7 separate regions of the Homo sapiens genome follow, and all the other regions are linked to region 2. Evidence: promoter capture Hi-C in 16 types of primary human blood cells and fetal thymus (Javierre and others, 2016). All regions are on one chromosome and are shown on one strand. The core of a region is centred on a gene start or on the middle of the fragment in contact, and the rest is flanking DNA. Distances in the headings are between cores, read along the strand shown.

Region 1 (3,698 bases), core at 602-3,101, 340 kb after region 2:
ATCAGTAGAGAGACTCCAAGTCCAGTGTGTTTTCTTGTTTCAAAGCCTTTTGGATGATCCTTGCTCCTACTTTCTTAGAACTGTTGGATTTCAGTTTTCTTTAAAATATTTTTCATGCTCATTGTAATTAGATAATTTTTCAAAAATAAATATTTAATTTTAAAACAGCTTTAGATGTACAGAATAATTGTAAACATAGTACATTTCCATATACCCTATGCAGGATCCTCTATTATTAGAAGCTTACATTGGTATGGTATATTTGTTACAATTAATAAATGAATACTGATGCATTATTCTTAACTAAAGACTAGAATTTATTCAGATTTCCTTACGATTTGCCTGATGTCTTTTTCTATTTTAGGATTCCATCTAAGATGTCACATTACATTTACCTGTCATGTGTGATTAGGCTCCTCTTGGCTTTGAGAATTTCTCAGCCTTTTCTTGTTTTTGATGACTGTGATAGTTTTGAAGGGTGCTGGTTAGGTATTTTGTTGAATGTTCCTCAATTTGAACTTGCCTGATGTTTTTCTCATTGTTAGACCGGGGTTGTGTGTTTTGAGGAAGAATACCACAGTGGTAAAGGGACATTTTTATCATGTCGTATCAAGAGTACTTACTATAAATGTGACTATTTTTGATGTTAACTTTTATCACCTGGTTGAGTATTTTTTGTTAGGTTTCTTCATTGTAAAGTAACTTTTCTTCCTTCTGTTTTTCATATTGTGTTCTTTGAAAATATATCAACACATGGAGCCTACACTGAAGGAATGGGGAACTGTTTTGTTTCCTGAAGGAGAGAGTATCTACATAAATTATTCAGAATTCCACATGGGAGATTTTGTCTTCTCCAAATCTATTTAGTCATTCAAAAATTTATTTGTATTTGTATTGATTCATCAATATTTAATTAATTAATTAATTAATTTTCTTGAGATGGAGTCTCACTCTGTCACCCAGGCTGGAGTGCAATGGCGCGATCTTGGCTCACTGCAACCTCTGTCTCCTGGGTTCAAGCGATTCTTCTGCCTCCGCCTCCTGAGTAGCTGGGATTACAGGTGCGCACCACCATACCCAGCTAATTTTTTTATTTTTAGTAGAGACGGGGTTTCACGCTGTTGGTCAGTCTGGTCTCGAACTCCTGACTTCATGATCTGCCCACCTCGGCCTCCCAAAGCGGTGGGATTACAGGTATGAGCCACTGCGTCTGGCCTATCAATATTTATTTTATACTTTGAGCTATATCTTAGTTTGCTTTGTACTGCTATTATAGAATGCCCAAGACTGGGTAATTTATGATTAACAGAAATTTATTGACTCACAATTCTGGAGGCTGGGAAGTCCAATATCAAGGTGCTAGCATCTGGTGAGGGCCTTCTCACTGTGTCATCACATGGTAGAACAGCAAGAGAGGGCAAGAGAGAGGGGGAAAAAGGGATGCAAACACCCTTTCATAACAACATCAATCCTATCCACGAGGGTGGTGCCCTCATTGGTTAATCGCCTTTTAAAGATCCCATTTTTTAATACTGTTACAATGGCAACAAAATTTCATCATGACTTTTGGAAATGACAAACATTGAAGCCATAGCAGATTTCATCTATTACTTAATTTATTTTGTTATACAAACTTTTCCAGTTTTGGCCATTAGGAACTCTTTCAAGTGACTTTTGTGCCCTTTTGACATATTCTCATAATTAACTAATTAAAATTTGAGCATTTCCTTACTTTCTGGCACTACAGGATGCTCCAGTCTCATTTTCTGTATTTCCTTTCCCAGTCCTAGAATCAGGCATTTCTACAAAAAGAAGTGCTGAAGAATGATACTAACCCCAAGATCTAGGTACTAGGCTTGTTCATTGCTACTGGGGTGTTGTCACTTTAGGCCCTATCAGCTGACAGACTAAGGATATATTCATACATAAGAACCAGTCTATACTCTTATATCTATAAATATTTCTATGTGGAACTATTTGTGTTAAGCTAAACAGAGTTGTTACCGATGTCTCCAGCCCTAAAATGTAAGCACACAGATTACTCTAGACTGTCTCTTGCTAATTTGTAACCTCTAACTCCAACAGTATGAAGTGGCTCCCACTATCTTCCATCCATCTACCTAATTGTTTAATTTCTGTTTACATTTATAATTGTATAAGAATTGTAAGTCAATACCTCTGTGGTAAACAACTTTATTCATTAGACTACAATACCTAGATATAATTTCTTTTGCCTTTGCTCTTACAGACTTCACACATTTCTAAAGTTGTTTAGATTACCACCTTTATTCTTTCATGTCCTTCAGCGAAGTTGTTTTGTACACTTGTAGTACTGTCATAATGTTTTCCTAAATTCCAGATTCCATTCTTGGATTCCAAAATATTTAGTTAAAAATTACAATTATTGATGTTCACTGTGTTTTGAAATTCAATGGATTTTTGACACAAGAGTATAATGTATCCGTCATCACAGTGTCATTCAGAATAGTTCCACTGCCCTAAAAAAGATCCCATCTTTCATGCTTCACCTACACAACCCTTACCTTTCCCATCTTCTCTCTGAAATCTGACCTTTTTACCACCTCTATAGCTTTGCTTTTTCCAGCATGTCATAGAATTGGAATCATACAGTATGTAGTCTTTCCCCATTGGCTTTTTTTTTTACTTAGCATTATACATATAAGGTTCATCCTTGTCTTCTTGTGACTTGAAAGCTCATTTCTTTCTATCACTGAATAATATTCCATTGTATGGGTCTACCATAGTTTGTTTATTTATTCACCTTTAAAAGACATCTTGTGCAAATTTTTGTGCAGACATAGTCTTTCAACTTATTTGGGTAAATATTTAGAAGCATGATTGCTGGATGGATGGTGATATGGTTTGGCTGTGTCCCTACCCAAATCTCATCTTGAACTGTGGCTCCTACGATTCCCACGTGTCATGGGAGGGACCCAGTGGGAGGTAATTGAATCATGGTGGCAGGTCTTTCCTGTGCTGTTCTCATGATAGCGAATAAGTCTCATGAAATCTGATGGTTTTATAAAGGGGAGCTTCCCGGCACAAGTTCTCTTCTCTTGTCTGCCACCATATGAGATTTGCCCTTCACATGATTGTGAGGTCTCCCCAGCCATGTGGAACTGTGAGTCCATTAAACCTCTTTTGTAAATGGCCCGGTCTCCAGTATATCTTTACCAGCAGTGTGAAACGGTCTAATACAGATGATAAGACTTTGTAGAAAACTCAGTTTTGCAAGAAACTGCTAAACTGTCTTCCAAAGTGGCTGCACTATTTTTCATTCCCATCAACAATGAATGAAAGTTCCTGTTGTTCTACATCCTAATCAGTAATTAGCATTGTCAGTTCTATGAACTTTTGCCATTCTAATATGCATATAATAGTATCTCATTATTGTTTAATTAACAATTCTTGATGACATATAATTTGGAGCATCTTTTCATAAGCTTACTTGCCATTTGTTTATCTTTCATGAGATGTTTGTTAAGGTCTGTGACCCATTATTTAATCAGGTTGTTTACTTAATGTTGAGTTTTAAGTGTGCTTTGTATATTTTGGATAGATGTCCTTTATCAGATATGAGTTTTCCAATTTTTTCCCCAATCTGTTGCTTATCTTTTTATTCTCTTACAGTATATTTTGCATATCAGAAATGTTAAATTTTAATTAAGTCCAATTTC
Region 2 (3,533 bases), core at 224-2,723:
TGCCAGAGCAGATGGAAACAAGGTAAGAGAGTTGTTTTCTTAAGACACTAGGGTTACTCCCCAACTCCAAATGCCAAGATTCACTCGCCAGTAGAGCAAGCTGCTGCCACTATCCACTGCTTACACAATACAACCTTCCTTTCTACCTCTTCCCCTACACTCCCACCCATAACCCCCTTCCAAAACAAACACCCACAACGCGCCCCATTCCATAATCCGTGTTCGCCCCTCTAAGCCCACTAAACCAACCTGCTGGATAACAGCTCTATGCATTCGTCTTAGGCAAAAAAAGAAAAAAAAAAAAGCGACTGCAGCAAGGTCGGGAGTCCCACCATTCCTGTCACCCTAAACAATCCACAGGGTGAGAGCCCCAAGCCCAGAAGTTTGAGGCAAAACGATTCAGATCCAACCAAAAAGAGGGAATTGCAGTTGAATGGGGATGGGAGGTGGGGAGGGCGATGCGTATGCGTGTATATGTGTGTGTGTGTGTAAGGAAGAGTCCATCACATGACAGTGAAAGAGGACCAGAGTCGTCGGGGCGTCCGCAAGCAGACGGGGGGGAGGGTGTCGTTGCCGTGGCAACACCCCCCATCCGTCCAGACTTCCAAAGAGGGAGGAAGAACTTCAAATCCCAACCGTCAGCGCTCAAGCGGCTCCTTCTTAAAGGGGTACACACAGCGCCGCCGCCGAGCGCGAGAGGGCAGAGTTGGGCGCCCCCCGCCCCTCGGACGACGCCCCCGCCGCCCCTCGCCCCCAGCCGGCCCATCAGCGGCCCCCGCCCTGCGAGTGCCCGTGGGTCTCCAGGTCCAGGTCCCCGGGAACTGGCCGCGTCTGCTCACCCGGCCCCCGGCGGCGACAAGGGGGTGTGTGTGCGCTCGGCGGGGGCGCGGACCAGCCCGCCTTCCTCCGGCCGCCCTGCCCGCCGGCTCTCCTCCGCCAGGGCGCCGACCCACCGGGCCGCTTCCTCCGTCCTGTCAGGGTGGACGGCGGGCGACGGCGGGCAGCGACGGGCGCCGAGGAGTTTCGGGGAGAGAGCGAGCGGGCGGCTTCCGCGGGGGCTCAGCAAGCGGGTCCAAACTAACAGTTCCCGGGGAGCCCAAGAGCTGGGAAGGCGAAGGAGCGCGGACCGCGCCGGGCCAGCAGCCCGCAAGACAAAAGGCGAGCGCCGGGGCCGCCGCGCCGCGCCGCTCCCATCTCGCTCCCCCACCGAACTAACCCGAACGGGAGATTCAACTAAACCCCTCAGCCACAAACTCCTCGGGCTGCGACAGCGGTCGCCGCGCGGAGCCCGGGGCCCCGGCCCGCGTCTCTCTTACCTACACAGTGCATGAGGCGGTGGCGCCAAGAGTCGAGTTCCCGCCGGAATCCTCTTCTCTCCGCCGCGCACCGAGGGCTCCGGCACTGAGCGGCGGCGGCGGCGGCGGCAGCAGCGGCGGCGGCAGCGGCCATTCTCTCTCTTCCCTTGTCCATCTGCGTCCCGCGTCACGCGCCCTCATTTACATACGAGCAGCGCAGGCACGAGGCAGGGGCGCGAGCCCTCGGCGCGAGCCCCGGAGCGCGCGCCCCCCGGAGGGGGGTTGATTGACACGTGTCACTACCTTCCCTCTGCCCTGCCCTCCCCCTCCCACCGCTCCCTCAGGGAGAGGCGGGGAGGGAGCCAGAGGAGAAGGAAGCAACCTGCCGCTTCCGCTGACCCCGCCTCCCCACCCACTACCCTCCTCCCCCTCCCGCTGGAGTTTACTCAGGCGAGCCATACCGCTCCCGCCGCCCGCGAAAACCCTGAGCGGGAGCGAGAGACCCGGAGCCCAGCCAGGAACCGGCGTGCTAGTGGAGCGGACTAGCAACGCCTACTTTCTGCCTTCACTACGGGACTCCGACAGTCCGGAGACTTCACTTCCCAGGCTCCATTTCGCCAGGATCCCGAAGCTGAACTTGGCGCCGTGGCGCGTTGCTTGCCGGTCATTGTAGTCCAGAAGAAAGGATTTTTTTTGTTTGTTTGTTTTTCTTCCCCCCCGCACTTGGGTATGCAGGCTGGCCTGCAACTTCTCTGCGCCGCGCCGCTGGGGGGCTGAGTCTGTCGCTCCCTGCGCCCGGAACCATGCGCTGCCCGGTGGCCGGGTCTGACCCGACTGCTTTAGCTTCCTTAGGCTCCGCGATAGAAGGGTGGTGGAAGCCGCAAGAGTTGTCGGCTCCTTGTGGGTTCAGGCTGCGCTTTGCGTTTTAAGTGCTGGAAACTTTCCGGGGTCGCTGTCTTCCTGTCACTCCGCAGGGAAAGGGCAAGCCGGTCATTCGGCTACATCTGGAATAACTGCCAAACGTCCAGAGAGAGATCCCGGAGTGACTTCGGTATTCAAGGCGAAGAGATCTCGGAAAGCCAGAATATTTGCAAGGACTAGGAAAAAGATGCGGGTTTTTTTCACTGAAAATTACTTGCAGGGGACTGGGTGTAGCCGGCTGAAAACTGCAGAAGGAAAATTTTCTTTATAAGCTCCTGGAGGGCAGCGACCCACTGAGATCTCTGTACCGTGACATCTGTCACTCGCTAGACCCTAGTACAGTGCGTGACACGGGATTAAGCACTTTACAAAGGTTAATGGAATGAATTCTACCACGTGCTAGAGAAAATAACTTCTTCAGAGAGAGCTAGAGAGGAATCTTACGTTTAAATACAGACTCCAATCACAGTTTTTACTTTTGCACCAGAGCGATTGTGCGTTTGTTTCCGTATAAGTGCAGTTTATCAAGCCGAAGCTAAGCTACCCAACGTTTGCTAAGAAGTACTGTGTATTTCTGGAAATTTATTCACAAGTCTGTGGGAAATATGTTTAATTCTTCTTGGAAATCTCATAAACTCTGAATTCAGTACCACCTTCCCTGTTTTGTGGCTTATCCTTATCCACCTTCTTTTTCTTCCTATGAGAAAGTATTTCTTTGCTCATTATGACTTCAGTAGTGAAGATGTAATTTTGCATCTTCATAAGTTAAAAATAATAAAGTTTGAACGCATAATCACCTTTTCTAGAACGGTCACAATTGGAGTGCAGGTGAAATCACTAGTGAAGGTGATTTTGGAATTGTCAGTGGATGGTTTTAGTTAACCACTTCCACTCACAATTGCCACGATGATCAGCCTTTGCAGTTTTCCTGATCACTTTTATAGTAATCTACATTAGTTAGGATGGGAAAAATTATGGTGCAGTAATAAATGATCCAAGAATCTTAGTGGCTTAAAACAACAACAAAAAACTATTTCCTGATTATCTACATGTTCATCTCTGGGTGGCAGGAGGAGGGGGCTTCATTCCATGTGGTCTCACTAAGCAACTGGATCCTTAAAGAGGCTGGAATCTCTGCAACGTCCCCCCTTGGGTGATAGGCAAAAGGAAGATGAAGAATGGCGAACTGGTTCTTCCTAAAAGTGATACAAGTCAGTTCTCACATTTCATTGACCAAAGCGAATTATTCGGGCGTATCTATCTTAAAGGGAGCAGGGAAGTGCGATCCTATTATATGTGCAAAAAGAAGATAACCAG
Region 3 (3,697 bases), core at 733-3,232, 390 kb before region 2:
ACGAACTAAGACACTCTAAGCGGGAAACTCACAAAAAATATTTGGTAGTGAAAAACAGTATGGTGTGTTAATGTATGGTGACAAGTGTTTGTTTGCATTTAAAAATGCATTGGAGCCTCGTTTTGATTAGGCAGTAAATTTACCTTTAATACGTAAGTTTGACAGTTATATGTAATCAGCTTTTTTTTTTTTAAGATGGTGTGATTGAGGTTAATGTGAACTGAACTTTCTATTTCTAAGCTGTCTTCATCTAATTTTACCTTTCTGTGGAAAATCAATACAAGTCAACCATTTTTATTGCCCAGTTATTCAAAGTTTTATTCAAAGAGCAAAGATTTGACAATGCATAGAATTAACATTGGTTTGTGGGCCACCTTCTGGGCCAGCACCAAAGACTGAAAAAATATTTTGCCCCCTAAAAGTTGTTATTGAGTCTTGTCAAATCACATTGCTCTGTCAGAAGGTAAGACAAATCAGTGTGGACTGAGAGCAAGGTCAGCACCGTGAACAGCCATTGCGGTTCCTTTAACCCACTGGGAATTCATGCAGTGAAGAAGCAACACACCATGAGGCAAATGGCTCAAACCCAAAGACCAGAGGTTCAGGGGATATATATATATATTTTTTTAATCTGTAGAGATGGGATCTCACTATCTTGCCCAGGCTGGTCTCGAACTCTTGGGCTCATGCTGTCCTACCTCAGACTTCCAAGTAGCTGGGTTTTCTTTGGGCTAATTATTTTTTTGTAGAGATGGAGGTCTCGCTGTGTTGCCCAGGCTGGTCTCAAATTCCTGGCCTCAAGCTCTCCTCCCATCTCAGCCTCCCAAAGTGTTGGGATTACAGGCATGAGCCATGTGCCCAGTCTAGAAGATCTTTGACTTCAAAGAACAGATAATCTAGAGACCTTCACAAGTGATCATGTTGGCACTATGGTCATTACACTGAGACCTATAACTGGGCTAGGATTGGTTATTTACAGAAAAACCTTGTGGTACTTAATTCCAATTCATGTTAATTTATGTTATCTTGCTTAATCCTTGCAAAGCCCTTTTAGAGGTGGGTGTTATCCCATCTATAATCTGCTGCTTGTCTTAGACCAAGGAAGTGAAAGTATTCAGTCCAAGCATGCTACCATCCATTTCTGGTAGGTTTGGTTTGTTTTTAGTTGGCTTTCCTGTTTAACTGTTATTTGTCTTCCTATTGAGGTTAGATGTGCATTTTGGAATTGCATCATTTTACATAGAAACAGCTTTCCAGTGGAGTTGACTAGCATCCTAAGGACAAGTACAACCACTTTTGAAATAGATCATGGAAATCACAAAGTCTGATGTTCCACAAAATGGAGTATGATGTTATGGACACTAGAAATACAAGGTATGGGTCATTAGTAACGCTAATAACATTTTCCTATAGATGACTTTTAATAACACTGGTTTAATGTCAATTTTTTTTTTTTTTTTTTTTTTTTTTTTTTTTTTTTTTTTTTTTGGAGACAGGGTCTCCCTCTGTCACCCAGGCTGGTTGGAATGCAGGAGTTCGAACTTGGCTCACTGCAACCTCTGCCTCCTAGGTTCAAGTGATCCTCCCGCCTCAGTCCCCCAAGTACCTGGGACCACAGGCACACGCCACCATGCCTGGCTAATTTTTGTATATTTTGTAGAGATGGGGTTTCACCATATTGGCCAGGCTGGTCTCAAATTCCTGGACTCAAGCAGTCCATCTGCCTCAGCCTCCCAAAGTGATGGGATTACAGGCGTGAGCTGCTGTGCCTGGCAGAACAGTATGAAGTGTTAACGCCAAAATTTGTTTTAGCTATCATATATAAATCATAAGCATATTATTTGGTTGGTTGGTGTTAGTTCATTCCTTCAATCGGATGATTTAAAATAAATGTTTTTCAAGTATCCTCTGTGATGTATCCCAAAGGTTAGCTTAGAAAGAAAAGTACTTGGTGAACCATTCCTGGTGCGGAGAGCCCTGTTTCTGCTGGACTTCTTTGGCTTGGGCCGTTTCACCATCTGGGGTCCTAAAAGCAAAAAAAGGTTTTTTTATATGGTTTTGAAAACTATGCAAGAAGCAGCTTAATACCCACCATCTTTTCAGGGAAAGATAACTGCTTGTTTACTCTTCAAAAACACCCAAATGGGACTGGCCAACATTAGTAGTGGGAAACAAATTGTAAAGGATGGGGCTGGGGAGGGAGTACCTAATCCTCATTTGGAAAACAGAAGGTTCACCATTGTTTGGTTCTCCATTGTTCCTTTGAGACTTAGTGGTTGTAGCTCTAATAATGCAGGATTAACCAAACCTACAGATCAAGAGACTTTGTTTTTATTTTTTGTGACAGAGTCTCCCTCTGTCACCCAGGCTGGAGTGCAGTGGCATGATCTCGGCTCACTGCAACCTCCAGCCTCCTGCGTTCAAGCGATCATTGTGCCTCAGCCTCCCGGGGAGCTGGAATTACAGGCGCATACCACCACACCTGGCTAATTTTTGTATTTTTTGTAGAGATGGGTTTCACCATGTTGCCCAGGCTGGTCTCGAACTCCTGACCTTAGGTGATCCACCCACCTCCATCTCCCAAAGTGCTGGGATTACAGGCGTGAGCCACCAAGCCCGGCCCGATTAAGAGACTTTAGAATTCCAAGGTGATAGAGTAAATCTTGAGGAATAATGTTAGTAATAATACTGAAACTATATTGAAGATTTTTGTGCCAAGTCCTGTGCTAAGCACATCCTATGGATTAATTCCTTTAGTCTCACGTCAGTCTGATGAGATAGGTGCTGTATTATCTTAATTTTAAAGGCAAGGTATATGGAGACCTGGAGAGGTCAAGTGACCTGTCCAAGGCCACAGAGCTAAGAATGAGGAAGACTGTAATTTGAATTCAGACCTCCAGGCCAGATGGAGTCCACCTTTTGTATAACCCATGCTGAAGTTTTCAGGTAAGTGATTCAGTGTCCCTTGTCTAATCATCCATGAAAAAAGGCCTTCTGGAATTTGGTACCAGGTGCTAGAAAGAATCCTACTTCCCCTCTTATCTACAGGGAAATAGAATAAGGGCCCCTGTCCCCAACATCCCCCAAACCTTGTGGCAGTTTTTGCATCTGTAGACTGGTTGGGTTTGTAGGTCCGGCCACAGCTGGGGCTTGGGTCCAAGCTGGGTGATGTAGTTATTGGAGGGGCATTAATCCTGGAACTCAGATCGCCACTCAGAAAGTTCTTTGCATAGGAGGCGAGGTTCGGCACGCTGACCACGCGGCTGGGCACGTCCTCCACCTTCTTTTTCTGTTTGTATTAATGGACAGGTTAGTGCAATGCAATGCAAAAAACAAAATAAAGCATTATTGTAAAAGCAAATAATGCTCACCCAATCAAAATTGTATCGGAGAAGAAGCAACAATTTCATTTATACACTTACATGCTATTTTTTAAAGCACTTTTCCCTCCAATCTTCATTTTGTATTATAAATAAATATGTATGTTCACAACCTCTTAACCAAAACTTCTGGAGATGGATGTGTTTTGCAACTCAATTTTGTTTAAGATTTTAGAAGGTCATGTAACACCCCCAGCAGGGGATGGGCCCACCCTAGCCTCAAATGCATTTATTTAAATTTCTGGAGTGAAACTTGTATTTTGTCACAATGAGGGATACATAAAAACTACACGAGATGACATTAGTTAAGTCACAAG
Region 4 (3,373 bases), core at 706-3,205, 480 kb before region 2:
ACAGTTTGCAAACTGAGGAAACAGCTTCAGTGTAAAACAAAAGTGCATTCCAGAGAACAAAGAGAGGGTTCAGGTTTATAGCAAAACGTCCACCCCAGCTTCCCAATCAGGTCTGCTTATGAAAATAAAGGATTCAAACTTTCTTAGCTCTGATTGACCAACACAGCTGAGTTCTGATTGGTTGGTAGAGCTGCACCCTGATTGGTTTATATAGCTGAGTCCTGATTGGCCAAGGCCGGTGAGCTCTGATTGGTTGGTTCAGGTGAGACCTGAAAGTCTCCAAGTTAAAAGGGTGTGGGTTTGCGGGGAACTCAGAGTGTATGTTTGACCTCTAATAAGCAAATGGCTCCTTGGCTGTATTCAAAACTTAGGCCCAGTTAGCCACTCAGGATCCATGTTGAAGGATTGACTCTTTCAGATTCACATTTATTCATTACATTTATTCACAAGTTAAAGAATTAGAAACACAGCTTTCTCATTTATAATATAACCAAGTCGCGTAAGATAATCTCTAATTTTCTTTCCCTCTCTAAAATGTTATGACTTTTAATGCTATATAATATATCCAGATTTATAGTGAATAAAGCACCTAACTATATGCCGGGCACTAAGCTAGGCATTTTCATGAATGCTATTTGGTAATAGTTGACTACCAGTGTGATTGGAGATGCTGTTACATGCACTGACAATTTAATATTGTGAGGATTTCAACCACCAATTCAACTATATTCTGAATATATTGTATATGCATTTCTCTGATGTTCGCGGCTGAGTTCTTGGTTAAATAAAACAAATGTAAAAACATGGCATGTAATTGTTTGCTTTATTGCTTTCTGTTTTGGAAAAAATAATAAGCAACACTAACAAATGACTTTGGAACCACAGTGATTTTTCTTTTGTCATTGACCTCTTGCGGAACAATAAATTGTATATAATACATTTTTTTCTTCTAACATAACAATTCTCTCAACCTTACAGATTTCAAGGGAGTAGGAGGAAGGAGGGAGTGAAGAGGACAAAAAGAATTCTTTCTATTGAAAAGGGGATGTGGCCAGGCGCACACACTTGTAATCCTAGTACTTTGGGAGGCTGAGGCTCAGGAGTTCGAGACCAGCCTGGCTAACATGGTGAAAGCCCGTCTCTACTAAAAATACAAAAATTAGCCAGGCGTGGTAGTTCGTGCCTGTAATCCCAGCTACCCGGGAGGCTGAGGCAGGAGAATCACTGGAACCTGGGAGACAGAGGTTTCAGTGAGTCGAGATCACACCACTGTACTCCAGCTTGGGCAACAGAGTGAGACTCTATCAAAAAAAAAAAAAAAAAGAGAGAGAGAGAGATGTTTGTAAGAGGCCCACAGAAGTTCTCAGCACCAGACCAGGTGTGGTGGCTTATGCCACCGTGCGGTAGGAGGCAGGAGGGAGTGAATAGGACAAAAGGATTCTTTCTATTGAAAAGGAGATGTTTGTCTATTAATATAATCCCAGCACTTTGGGAGGCCGAGGCAAGAGGATCAGTTGAGCCCAGGAGTTTGAGACCAGCCTGGGCAACATAGGGAGACCCCATCTCTATAAAAATATATTTAAAAAAAAAAAGAAAGGAAAAAAGTTCTCAGCACTGTTGAAGAGAGAAATGAGCCATCCTCGAGTCATTCTGTCTACTCTTGTTGAAGCTTCCCTGGGTACCACAGCTTAAGTGGCCCACCTGAGAGGTGGCTCCTGATATACCAGCTGTTTATTAACTATGTCAGTAATGGTGATTTCTGACTCCAAAACAAACTACTCAAAATTTTACTTTAGTTTTGAAAAGTAGTGTTCCTATGGTGAGTAGTCAGCTGAACCATTTTAAAGGCCCACCCTTCAGGGTTTTGCTGTAGTAGGTTATTCCTTGTAATGAAAACAATTTTCTTGAAAATTAATTAATCGTGATGTTTTAAATCTTGTTTTGTAAGTATGCCTTTGTTTCTTTAAAGCCCTCATCATGAAGGCCTCGTCTCTTTTCTCAGTCATCACTATGGCAAACTTTAACAAGTTAGTTAGAATTTACAAAACTGTGGCAAAAACACTGTTAGTTACTTCAGAAAGTAAAGAATGGGAATGCATGACTTTTTCAAGTTCCCTTTACATAGCACGTTGTATGCCTTTCAGCAAAAATGAAAATAATAATAATAATACATTGAAATAGGTAATATTCCATTTATTAAAGTTATACATTCACAAAATTTGTTTCTCCTTAAATTGAAGTTAAGCTTATAAATATTATTGTTCTGTTTTTTAGGTTAGCAAATTTTAGTGATCTCTTTTTAAAAGCTTTGGTTTACCATTTGGTCCCCTTTATGAATGTACTAAATAAACATCTTGAAACAGCCTATGTAACTTAATTTATTTTCCATGCACTTCAATTAACTGACAAAATTTAATAATTCTTCTAAGTCTAATGAATTAAAGTTAAAATGCTGTGAACCTTAAGTTATCTTAAAAATTCTGGCTGGGTGCAGTGGCTCAAGCGTGTAATCCCAGCACTTCGGGAGGCCAAGGAGGGCGGATCACGAGGTCAGGAGTTTGAGACCAGCCTAGCCAACATGGTGAAACCATGTCTCTACTAAAAATACAAAAAAAAAAAAAAAAAAAAAAAAGGCTGAGTGTGGTGGCAGGCGCCTGTAATCCCGGCTACTCGGGAGGCTGAGGCAGGAGAATTGTTTGAACCTGGGAGGCGGAGGTTGCAGTCAGCCGAGATCACACCACTGCACTCTAGCCTGGGCGACAGGGCGAGACTCTGTCTCAAAAAAAAAAAAAAAAAAATTCCAGCCCTGTATATAAATAAGCAAAACATGATTCCAAATCATTAGAAATATACGGCTGTCCTGTTTCACCAGCAGACCAGCTTCTCTTTCATCACCAATACATAAAATAATAAGGAAGTACAAATTTTAAAATCAAAAATATCAATACCTTGATTTTGCTTCTTTTAAGTATTTTTGTACTTAATTCTAAGCTTTGTCAGGGCAAAAAGACACTTACTCACAAAGTAAATGATTACATCATCTCTCACAACTTTAGGAATTGCCTTCCCATCTATTTTGGGAATTGACTTCTCAGGAGGTTTGAGGTTGCGTTGTGAACTTGAGTCTCGCCTCAAATTAAACCCAGTTTAATAGTGAAGCCTGCCTTATACCTTACCACTATTGTTCATCTTTACTACCCTGCTCGACGTTTTCTTTTTGCTTATCTTTAACATGCTAGATAATTGATATTTGTGTTATACTTACTGTATACTGCCTGTCTTTCTCCATGAGAATGTCATCTCTATGAGGACAGGATTTTTTTTTTTTTTTTTTACAGAGTTTCGCTCTTGTTGCCCAGGCTGGAGTGCAATG
Region 5 (3,346 bases), core at 47-2,546, 370 kb before region 2:
TTTCCCATGTAGGCACCTCCATTCCAGGGTAGCTGCTAACTGGGAAGTCTACGAAACTCTTTCCTTCCTGCTCCTCACACCACTTCCTCAGAAACATGCAGTCAGTGGGACACGCTTTCTAATGAGAACTCAACCAAGCAGCAAGGTAGAGCCTAACTCACTTATGGAGGTAAAGAAAATGCTGTCCTCCAGAATTCTCTTTTTACTTTTCCTAATTTTTTTTTTTAAAGAGATGGGGGTCTTGCTATGTTGTCCAGGCTGGTCTTGAACTACTGACCTCACGTGATCCTCTCTCACCTTGGCCTCCCAAAGTGCTGAGACTACAGGCATGAGCCACCACACTCAGCACCCAGAAATCTCTTAAGGAGAGCCCTGTCTAGGTTTGGAAGAAATACTTAATAAAGCCAACATGATCTTTAGTGCTCAGCATGAAATGGTGAGAGGTTATTTGTCTTGCTCTTAAGAGTAAGAAAGATGACAGTAAAGGAGAAAATGAGGGACAGGGATGATCTACAAAAATGAGAGAGGTCTCCAGAATCAGGCATACAACATTGAAATATTCAGTCATGGCCGGGCGCAGTGGCTCACGCCTGTAATCCCAGCACTTTAGGAGGCTGAAGTGGGTGGATCACGAGGTCAGGAGATCGAGACCATCCTGGCTAACACGGTGAAACCTCGTCTCTACTAAAAATACAGAAAAATTAGCCGGGCGTGGTGGCGGGCGCCTGTAGTCCCAGCTACTCGGGAGGCTGAGGCAGGAGAATGGTGTGAACCCAGGAGGCGGAGCTTGCAGTGAGCTGAGATCATGCCACTGCACTCCAGCCTGGGCGACAGAGCAAGACTCTGTCTCAAAAAAAAAAAAAAAAAAAAAAAAAAGAAGAAAAGAAACATTCAGTCATAATGTAACAGGGAACACTTAGATAGACTTACTGCATACCAGGCTCTATTTGAAGCACTTCTCATGCATTTACTCAAGTAATTGTCATTACAGCCCAGTGAAGTGAATGCTATTATTATCCTCATTTTAGAGATGGGAGACTGAGGTACAGAGCAGTTAAGCAAATTCCTACCCAAAGTTACACAGCTAGTGAGTGTTAGAGCTGGGCTTCACACCCAGGCAGTTTGGCTCTAGAGATCTTTACCTCTGTTAACTTCGAAGATGCTGTGTGTGAGTGGTTTTATTGATGTGGCAACTGAAAAGGGGGAGAGTTTTGTGCTGGGGATGATGTGGGGGCAGGCAGAGGAAGCAGAGCCTGGAGGCCTAAGATCCTCCAATTTGCCGAAATCTTCAGAACAGAAATGAGAGGTTGAGGCAATGCCATGAAACTCATATGAAGGCTCAGAGATCTGGGTTACATGCAATAATAATGATGATGATGATAATGATAGTATCTACATTCACTGGGCTCCTGTTATATGCTAGACACTTTATATTTAATATCTTTTTTTTTTTTTTTTTTTGAGTCTTGCACTGTCGCCCAGGCTGGAGTGCAGTGGCGCCATCTCGGCTCAGTACAAGCTCTGCCTCCCGGGTTCACGCCATTCTCCTGCCTCAGCCTCCCGAATAGCTGGGACTACAGACACCTGCCACCACGCCCGGCTAATTTTTTGTATTTTTAGTAGAGACGGGGTTTCACTGTGTTAGCCAGGATGGTCTCTATCTCCTGACCTTGTGATCCACCCGCCTCAGCCTCCCAAAGTGCTGGGATTACAGGCGTCAGCCACCACACCCGGCCTTTATGTTTAATATCTCATTTAATCCACACAGTGAGCCTATGAGGTAGGGACAACTGTAATTCAATTTTATACAAAAGGAAAATGAGACTCACAGTAAGCCATCCCAGGTTTCACAGCTAGTTGGTGGCAGAGCCAGGATTGTCCCTGACATGTGTGCCTGAGATTCCTGGAGCCCTGGCCTGTGAGCCCGAGACCCCTGGAGCCCTGGCCTGTGTGCCTGAGAGCCTGGAGCCCTGGCCTGTGAATCTGAGAGCCCTGGAGCCCTGGCCTGTGAGCCTGAGATTCCCGGAGCCGTGGCCTGTGAGCCCGAGAACCCTGGAGCCCTGGCCCTCAGCTTGTCTCTGGTTTCTACATGCAGACCCTGCAGTTGGCCAGGCCCTCCTCAGTACACTATTGGGTGTATACCTAGCAGCAGGGCCTGCTGTGCCTGCATCCTCTCACGCTCCTCCTGCAGCTCTTGCCTGGCCTTTTCCTCCAAGGCCTGGAGCTCCAGTCGGTGTGTCTGGTGTTGGATCTGGAGGCTGTGGCTGGATTCCTTCTTCAAGCGTTCCTCTGTGGCCTGTGGGAAAAAGTGGGAACAAGAAGGCATGAAAGTGGGCATGAGGGTGGGAGACCTGACTCCTTTGCCAAGCTCTTCTGAGCCAGGATGCTCTGAACACTCGCACTCTCCCATGGAGGGCTTATCAGGCTACAGAGAATGCTGTAGCAATGGCCTGGCCACAGCAGCCATTTTGCACCAGGTGAACCACCTCCTTCCACAGCTGATTGGGCCAGAGTGGACACCTGTTCTAACCTGGGCCAATCAAAGTTCCTTTAATGTAAATTTGACATGAAGAGGTGGGAGATAGAGCAAAAGAGACTGACAGACAGATACTGACTCTGTGGCTCCAAATTTACCATACTCAGGAGCACTAAGGTAACTATCTGACATCTGCCCCAGGACTAGTGTGGTGATGGCTGCTGTCTGTGGAGGAAGCCCAGGGCTGGTGTGCACAGCAGAGCAGAATGACATAGGGAAGGGTGAGGGGTCCCTACAGCTTTTCAGTCCATGCTCTTGTTTGGTCCTGAGAACTGTCTGTGTCTCTGTCCTTGGGTTCATATTCATTCATTCTTTTTTTCCCTACTTTTTATTTTTGGTTCATTCACGCTTTCACTCAACAAACATTTATTTACTGAAGTCCCACTGTGTGTCAAACACCCAAAGCAAGTTCTGTGAGCAGCTGGGTAAACTTTAATAAGTGTCTCTTCACTGCCTGCCTAACTTCACTCAAGCTGGTTTCTGTGAGAGGCACAAAAACAACCCCTAAGATGTCCATGTCTGAAAACTGAGTATGTTACCTTACATGGTCAAAGGGACTTTGCAGATGTGATTAAGGATCTTAGATGGGAGATTATCCTGAAATATCTGGGTGGGCCTCAATCACAAGGGTCCTTATAAGAGGGCCGTAGGAGGCTCAGTGAGAAAAGAGTTGATGGTGGAAGCAGAGGTCAGAGAGGGAGGGGGAGGGGGATTTGAAGCTGCTACACTTTTGGCTTTGATAATGCAGGAAGGGACCAGAAGCCACGGAACTCAGGCGGCCTCTAGAAGGTGGAAAAGGCAAGGACACAG
Region 6 (3,696 bases), core at 659-3,158, 300 kb after region 2:
GTGATAATCACAGCCCAAAGGAAATGACTGACTGGCTGGGACCACATCACGATCCAGCAGAGAAGGTAGGGCCATGTGCAAATCAGCTGCTTATGAGTGTAGTGGGGCCATCTTTAATGGGGGCCCTTAGATATTCAAGAAAACCCAAGTTCTTTTCTCCTTCCTTAAAGGGACTCTGCTTCCTTAAAGGGACTCTGCTTCCTTAAAGGGACTCACACCTCTCAGAAGAATAATTAAGCAAAGACCTTTGTCTACATTATCTGAGTGCACCTTCAATAGGTCTTGTTGTTGTACACTGTTCTCTATCAGCCTGTCCTTCCCTTTGCCATTGCACACCCACACACAGAATTATGACTCTTTACTTCTCTATATCTTCTAGACAGTGAGTTCCTTGAGGGCAGGTTTTTTATATCTCTGTATTATCAGTACCTGGCAAAGGCAAGGCGCATGGTAGACGCACACAAAATGTCCAAAGAACCAACAAAGTCTACCATGCTTCTCACACAGAGTTACAAATTTTGGGGGGTCCAGGGTGATGTGTGATAAGAAGAACCTACATTATTAATTCACAGATTAAGCATGATGTGGCTTTCTGTGTATTGATTGTACAGGTTGAGCATCCCAAATCCAAAATGTTCCAAAACTTGAAATATTTTGAGTGCCAACATGGCGATCAAAGCAAATGCTGTTTAGGGCATTTCGGACTTGGAATATTCAGATTTGGGATGCTTAACTGGGTAAGTATAAATTGAAAATTCTGAAATCTGGGGAAAAATTGAAATCTAAAACATTTCTAGTTATAAGCATTTCGGATAAAGGATACTCAAGCTATGCTTGAAGATCTATAATAAAAATCATAATTTTTATATCTGAACAGCATGACTGGATCATAGGGTAAAAACTCAGAATGCTTAAAAATGTAGCACAGACTTCAAAGAACTTGATGTGCTTCAAAGATCATGACCATTTTGAGCTCTGCCTCAGATCCCTGGAGTGGAGAGAAGGGGGTAGGTTCAAATTCATTCTCTCCTGCAATTGGAGGTCTTCAGGTGAAATTGTTGGAAAAGGACTAAAGTACTACATTTCTGCAAGTCCTGAACATAGCACTATTACCAGTGGGGTTTTGGCAGTTAGGTCAAGCCTCTTGGTCTATGCAGGAAGCAAGAAAGTGGAAGAGAAAGATCCTTGAAAGGACAAGGCCAACTCTAGTCTATACTCACAGATGCACCATGTGCTTTGTCAGAGAGCCTCCAAGGAGTCCTTTGAGAATCTGCTAAAAGTTATAGACTCTTCAAGAAGTTGCACTGTCTACCATGGTGTAGAAGGATGCAACTTTAACTTAATGTTTGTTATAATCTTCTTTACTGCTGAGCGGGGGAACTTAATTTCAACCAGTTTTAGGTTATTCTCTGACAGTGCGACTAAAGCCTTAGTAACATGGGGAAGGGTGAAAAGTGAGTTCATGCTTAATGAGGCATATGGTCTGAGTTGTTATCTTTGTTGGCATTGTCTTCCACTCCATGTGGTTGTCAGTATTTTTTTCAGCAAGTCACTCCTAAGCAGTTCCTTACTCCTGTCTATTCTTCTCTCTTTCTGCTAATATCCTTGTTCCTTTTTAGTTGTTTTTGTTCCTCAACTCATGCACTGGGCTACTAGAATCTGGATGGAGCAAGCTATAGTTGTTCCCCACTTCTCTGTTAGTCTTGCGGCCCATTGGGGGTCATGCAACATACATCAAACTTTTGCATACTGTTCTCCTGTGCCCATGGAATTCTCAGGTTATTAACCTCTGTCCAAGTCAAAATCTAAAAAAGGGGGTCTACTATTTTCAGAGTGAGTGGAGGTGAGGAAGAAAGGATAAAATGAACCGGGAGGTTTTCTCCTGTTTGAGCTGCCAGTGAAGGGGAGGGGAGAGGAGCAAGTGGGTGCCAGGTTATAGAACATCACTAGCAGCAGGCAACAGCCATCACCCAATCACAGCCACGTGCCTACTGCACTGTGTAATTCTATAGCTCTTTTGACTGGGCTTACAGGCACGCTCTCTCTGAGTGCTATTGATTTCTTGGGGAAAGGAGATCAAAAACAAGCGTTATACTTGGTGTCGTGTGTTTTCTAGGGGAAGTAAATAGATTAGCCAAAATGGACAGACAACATCAGGGCAAAAAGAGAGGAGGCTCCCTGGAAGTGCCTGCCCTGAAATGGGATCTCTTGAAATGATCCACAGGGGAAAAAAATAATTAGGCAGGGCAAGAATTTGTCTTGTACACAGATCAAATGTCACATTTCATTCCATCTCAGCTTTGTGTCCTGGGACTCAACTCTCTCTCTATTGGGTTTCTGTTTGATAGTAGCAGCTCTGCTTTCCTGAATCTCAACCATTCTCAGCTCCCAAGCTGCTGGGACCAATCGTCACTTTGTGCTTCTGCATGTTGCTCTATGGTAGCACTGTTCAATAAAACTTTTTGTGATGATGAAAATGTGTTATGTCTCTGTTGTTGAATACAGTAGCCACTGGCCTCATGTGGCTTTTGAGCTTATGAATTGGAGCTGGTATAACTGAGGAACTGGATTTTTCATTTTATTCAATTTTAGTGAATTTAAATTTAAACAGCCACATGTGGCTGTTTGCTATCATTCTAGACAGTGCAGTTTTAGACTCTTGCAATACAAAAGTGTGAATCAGTAGCATCTGTACCACCTGGGTTTGGGAAGTTGTTAAAAATATAGTGTCTTGTGTCTCACCCCATACCTTCTTAACTAGAGTCTACATTTTAACAAGAATTCTAAGTATAAGGGTGTGCATTAAAGTTTGAGCAACAGTGCTTGAAATGACGAGGTCTCAGGAGAACACATGACATCTGTTGGGGTTACCTAGGTTATACCATGGTAACAGACAAGTCCAAAATCCTGGTGACTTAAAATAAACAAGTTTTATTTTTCACAAATGCTTCTTGTCTATCATGGCTCAGAAGGAGATCTATTCTACATCATTCTCACTCTGGGTCCCAGACTAATGGACCAATACTCTGTAGATCATTTTTTGTTGCCATGGGAGAAGGGAAAACAGGCAGTGTGGTGAAACCTGTCATTCCTACTGACATTTCATTAGCCAAATGAAGTAACATGACCACACCTAAATCTAAGGAGGCAAGGAGGTGCAATCCTACCCTATGCCCAAGAGAGGAAGAAACAGAATATTTGGAGAATTTATTTGGTGAAGAGCACTAATGACTGCCACACACAGCAAGCCTAATTAGAACTTTTTTAAAAAAAATAGCTAATTCTCAGAGCATCATCACCTCAAGTTTTAACGTACAATAGTCTTCTGATTGGTGCCTCTGCCATCCTTTATTCCTTCACATTGCTACCATATTAATCCTCCTAAGGCATAGCTCAGAGGATGCCATTTTTCTGCTCAAACCCTCCCATGATACCTCACTGCCCACCAAGTTAAGTAACCTCCTTTTAGCATGATGTAGTAGAAAGAATGCTACTAATTTATCTGTGCAACCTAGGACTATGTTGCTTAAATTATCTGAATCTCAATTTTCTCATTATTTAAGTTGGAGATAAAAATATCTTCCTTCAAGGGCTGGTCTGAGTCTTAAATGAAATAATGTCCATTAGAGTCCCTAGGGTAGCAGACATTTAGTAACTGAGAGCAGTACCATTCTCTTGAGCTCCTAGAGCATACTG
Region 7 (3,461 bases), core at 770-3,269, 500 kb before region 2:
TAGCCGGGCGTGGTGGCAGGTGCCTGTAATCCCAGCTACTCAGGAGGCTGAGGCAGGAGAATCACTTGAACTTGGGAGGTGGAGGTTGCAGTGAGCCAAGATTGTGCCATTGCACTCCAGCCTGGGTGAAAAGAGTGAAAATCCATCTAAAAAAAAAAAAGAGAAAGGAAAAAGAAAGAAAAATTTACCATCTGATAAAGGAGAGGCAGATAAATATATACTAGGCACAGAACACAGTATCTGAAGCCATTGCCTTGTAGTTCATTTCCTTCCATTTTTACTATGCTAGAGAAGAGATTTTATTACGCCCATTTTACTGATGAGGAAATTAGAGACCAGAGAAATCGATACATAAAATAATTTCTTTAAAAGCACCTAATGTAATAGATTGCTTTGCAGCTTTTAGTTCTCTGGTTCCTCTCTACTTCCTGCCTCACAGGTATTCCACTAGTGGCCAGGACCTGGGTTTGACTTCAGATGTCCTGCTTTTCTTATTTGCCCTGCTGGGGCGAAAAGGACTGCCAGACCTCTCTGGGATTCGGAGCAAACAAATTATCTTAGATGCTGATAGATGCTGATAGATGCATCATATGCTGATAGATGCTGATAGATGCATCATATGCTGATAGAATGATGCTGATAGAATGATTAATCAATTCTGCTTTCAAGTGAGTTGCCTCTAATGTGTAGGAAACAACTATATCTATTCAAATTCAAAATGAGACCTCCAGGATTCAAAAGACTCTATGTTTAGAATTTTAAACCTCTACTTATCTGTGCTTTCTGATTTTTCTGCTCTAGCCCTGTAATAGAGTAGTTAAGCTGACACTTTTCTTGCTGTGGGAGCGTAGCTAAGCTATTTCACTTCTCCGAGCCTCAGTTTCCTCATTTGTAAGCATGAGAGAGGGTGTCCATGAGCAACAGAACAAAGAATATGTATAAAGCCACCGGCACATAGTCTGCACCCCATATAGGTGGCTGTTGTCATTTATCACCATGAATCGTGTTGTCATTTATCACCATGAGTCGTGTGTAGGGTCATGGATTTCAAGCTAGAAACTTAAATTTAATTCCTAGTGGGAGACATCTAAAACTCTTGGAACCTGGATTTCAAATGTGAAAGGCAAGTGAGCAACAGCTTTCCTAGGGCAGCACTGGGTGTCAGGCTAAGGCAGAGTCACCTCTCAGTGAGAAAGTAGAAAGAACTGGTGCATTAACACTCCTGAGAAATGATTTGAATTTCTACTTTTTTCTTCTTTTTTAAAAAATAATTTAATTTAGAGACAGAGCCTTGCTATGTTGCCCAGACTTATCTCCAACTCCTAGCCTCAAGCAATCCCCCCATAATGGCTCCCAGAAGTGCTGGGATTACAGGCATGAGCCACTGCCCCAGCCTCGAATTTCTAAATAATGACATATATTAAAAAATAATAAAATCTCTATTAAACATGAGGTCCTGAGCCCTGTGTTATGGCCCAAGAATGTGGGGGTTGAGTGAGATTTGCCCTTTGCCAATAAGTATTTTTTAATTATAGTTAATGCACTTCCTACTATGAAGGCCGAGGACTGGGCACTCTTTACCACCCTCTCCACATCACTCCACATTCCCCAAATTCCCTCTCCCCCGTCATCCTAATATGATTATTTCTCAATTTTTAAAAATCAAATCTGGATATGGTTTCAATCATTATGTGGATATAATTCTTTCTTTTTAAAAGATGAATTATATACATTATGGACATTATGGATACTTTATTAAATCAGTCTATTCACATACTGTTTTTTCTCCAATCTTTTGCTATTGTAATGAATATCCAATATTTGATCCACGCTTTGAGCACATGTGGGAGTGCTTCTGGAAAATAAATTCCTAGAAGTGAATTTGCTTTAGTAGATGTTGCCAAATTGCCCTCTAACAAGGTTACATGAATTAATATTTCTATGAGACTTGAGAGTGCCTCTTCCTTACACCATTGTCAACACGGTGTTTTAGCAAACATTTTGATCTTTACCATTCACATAGGTGACTGTTTTCTATTGTAAGAGTTTTGGTAAGCATTACTATGTTAGTCGTGTGTCCTAAGGATTGCCTGGTTAAGAAAGGGGATAATGAAACAATTTAAAAATCAGGCACAAGCGGCAGGGTCTGGTGGCTCATGCCTGTAATCCCAGCACGGGCAGATCACTTGAGGCCAGGAGTTTGAGACCAGCCTGGTCAACATGGTGAAACCCCCGTCCCTGCTAAAAATGCAAAAATTAGCCAGGCATGGAGGCGGGTGCCTGTAATCCCAGCTATTGGAAAGGCTGAGGCATGAGAATTGCTTGAATCAGAGAGAAGGAGGTTGCACCAAGCCGAGATGGTGCCACTGCACTCCAGCCTGGGTGACAGAACAAGATTCTGTCTTTAAAAATAAAAATAAATAAATATCAGCACAAGCTACTGTGTCTGAAACAAAAAGGGGCTGAGAGTTTGAAAAGAGAAAAAAAAAATCTAAGGGACATTAAGATGGGATAGAAGCACAGGGAAGAAAGACGCTTTACAAAGACAAACTCACTGGAAAGGAGCTCATCTTCCAGGGTAAAGTTTCCAATGCTGATTAGATAACCATAGGGAGATAAAAATAAATGGAAATTCAGAACTGGAAAGAAACATCAGAACGCACAATGTAAACGTGGAGTGCCTGAAAATGTGTCACCTAACGGGACACCTAACGGGAAAAACAAAAACTCTAGTTCTCAGGACTGGGAGACGCCAACCTTCAGTGACTAAGAGAGGCAGGTGAACCAGCAAAGGAACTAGTTCCATCAGGGTGGGTATTCAGCAGGAACCTTGGAGCAATTGCAGAGGAATGAGTATGCTCAGAAGTTCTGTAGCTTTCATAATGTTCAATTCTTCATGTAAAACTACTAAAGATCATGACTTGACACTGTTGATACCATACAGTTGTGAACAACAGTTCTCAGAAAAGGAATTTGGAGTAAAGAATTTATTCCAGTTAACGGTTTGCAAACCAGGGAAACACAGCCTCCGGTGTAAAAGGAAGGTGTATTCCAGAGAAGAAAGGGAAGGCTCAGATTTTATAGCAAAAGTTCCCACCCAGGTTTCCAGTCAGGTCTGTTTGGGTAAATAAAGGATTCAAATTCACTTAGTTCTGATTGGTGGATACAGCTGAACCCTGATTAGCTGGTACAGCTGAGCCCCGATTGGTCATTACAGCTGAGCCCTGATTGGCTGAGGCAGATCTCAAAGATAAAAAGGTGTGGGTTTTCAAGGAACTCAGAAGATGCGTGTGACCCCCTAGTCAGTAAATGGCCACTTGGCCCTACTTTAAATTTAGAGCCAGTTAACCACTCAGGACCCATCTTGAAGGACGGGCTCTTTCAGGGTCACATTTGTTCTCATAGTATATTGAACTATAATCTTATATAGAATTAAGAGTTGCCTTCCCCAAACACAAGCA

Evidence for each region. The method cuts DNA at HindIII sites, captures the fragments that hold promoters and counts their contacts. A CHiCAGO score of 5 or more calls a contact.
Region 1: a fragment that was not itself captured here is called in contact with the fragment with the promoter of LCORL in region 2 in 2 of 17 cell types (endothelial precursors and M2 macrophages); the score reaches 8.8 in endothelial precursors.
Region 3: a fragment that was not itself captured here is called in contact with the fragment with the promoter of LCORL in region 2 in 9 of 17 cell types (monocytes, total CD8 T cells, naive CD4 T cells and 6 more); the score reaches 10.9 in monocytes.
Region 4: a fragment that was not itself captured here is called in contact with the fragment with the promoter of LCORL in region 2 in 5 of 17 cell types (erythroblasts, total CD4 T cells, activated CD4 T cells and 2 more); the score reaches 7.6 in erythroblasts.
Region 5: a fragment that was not itself captured here is called in contact with the fragment with the promoter of LCORL in region 2 in 1 of 17 cell types (naive CD8 T cells); the score reaches 5.6 in naive CD8 T cells.
Region 6: a fragment that was not itself captured here is called in contact with the fragment with the promoter of LCORL in region 2 in 1 of 17 cell types (endothelial precursors); the score reaches 5.7 in endothelial precursors.
Region 7: a fragment that was not itself captured here is called in contact with the fragment with the promoter of LCORL in region 2 in 2 of 17 cell types (monocytes and total CD4 T cells); the score reaches 7.0 in monocytes.

What each region holds. Positions count from the first base shown.
Region 1 is chr4:18,360,482-18,364,179 of GRCh38, forward strand. No RefSeq gene overlaps it. Among named protein-coding and RNA genes, the nearest start is that of LCORL, 340 kb to the left of the region's middle. The HindIII fragment of the contact is 3,222 bases long and covers 241-3,462 here.
Region 2 is chr4:18,020,282-18,023,814 of GRCh38, forward strand. It overlaps LCORL (ligand dependent nuclear receptor corepressor like), which reads right to left and starts at 1,474. Exons shown (of 8, transcript NM_001394446.1): 1 at 1,317-1,474. The coding sequence starts at 1,470. RefSeq lists silencers at 686-1,015, 1,336-1,795 and an enhancer at 1,846-2,105. The HindIII fragment of the contact is 12,000 bases long and covers 1-3,533 here.
Region 3 is chr4:17,630,600-17,634,296 of GRCh38, forward strand. MED28 (mediator complex subunit 28) reads left to right here. Exons shown (of 4, transcript NM_025205.5): 4 at 1-3,506. FAM184B (family with sequence similarity 184 member B) reads right to left here. Exons shown (of 18, transcript NM_015688.2): 17 at 3,090-3,289; 18 at 1-2,026. The coding sequence ends at 1,933. Among named protein-coding and RNA genes, the nearest start is that of MED28, 18 kb to the left of the region's middle. The HindIII fragment of the contact is 5,359 bases long and covers 1-3,697 here.
Region 4 is chr4:17,535,889-17,539,261 of GRCh38, forward strand. No RefSeq gene overlaps it. Among named protein-coding and RNA genes, the nearest start is that of CLRN2, 22 kb to the left of the region's middle. The HindIII fragment of the contact is 576 bases long and covers 1,668-2,243 here.
Region 5 is chr4:17,650,688-17,654,033 of GRCh38, forward strand. It overlaps FAM184B (family with sequence similarity 184 member B), which reads right to left. Exons shown (of 18, transcript NM_015688.2): 11 at 2,143-2,296. Among named protein-coding and RNA genes, the nearest start is that of MED28, 38 kb to the left of the region's middle. The HindIII fragment of the contact is 5,533 bases long and covers 1-3,346 here.
Region 6 is chr4:18,320,183-18,323,878 of GRCh38, forward strand. No RefSeq gene overlaps it. Among named protein-coding and RNA genes, the nearest start is that of LCORL, 300 kb to the left of the region's middle. The HindIII fragment of the contact is 5,768 bases long and covers 1-3,696 here.
Region 7 is chr4:17,518,613-17,522,073 of GRCh38, forward strand. The region is part of intron 1 of CLRN2 (clarin 2); the gene reads left to right. Among named protein-coding and RNA genes, the nearest start is that of CLRN2, 5.2 kb to the left of the region's middle. The HindIII fragment of the contact is 4,330 bases long and covers 1-3,461 here.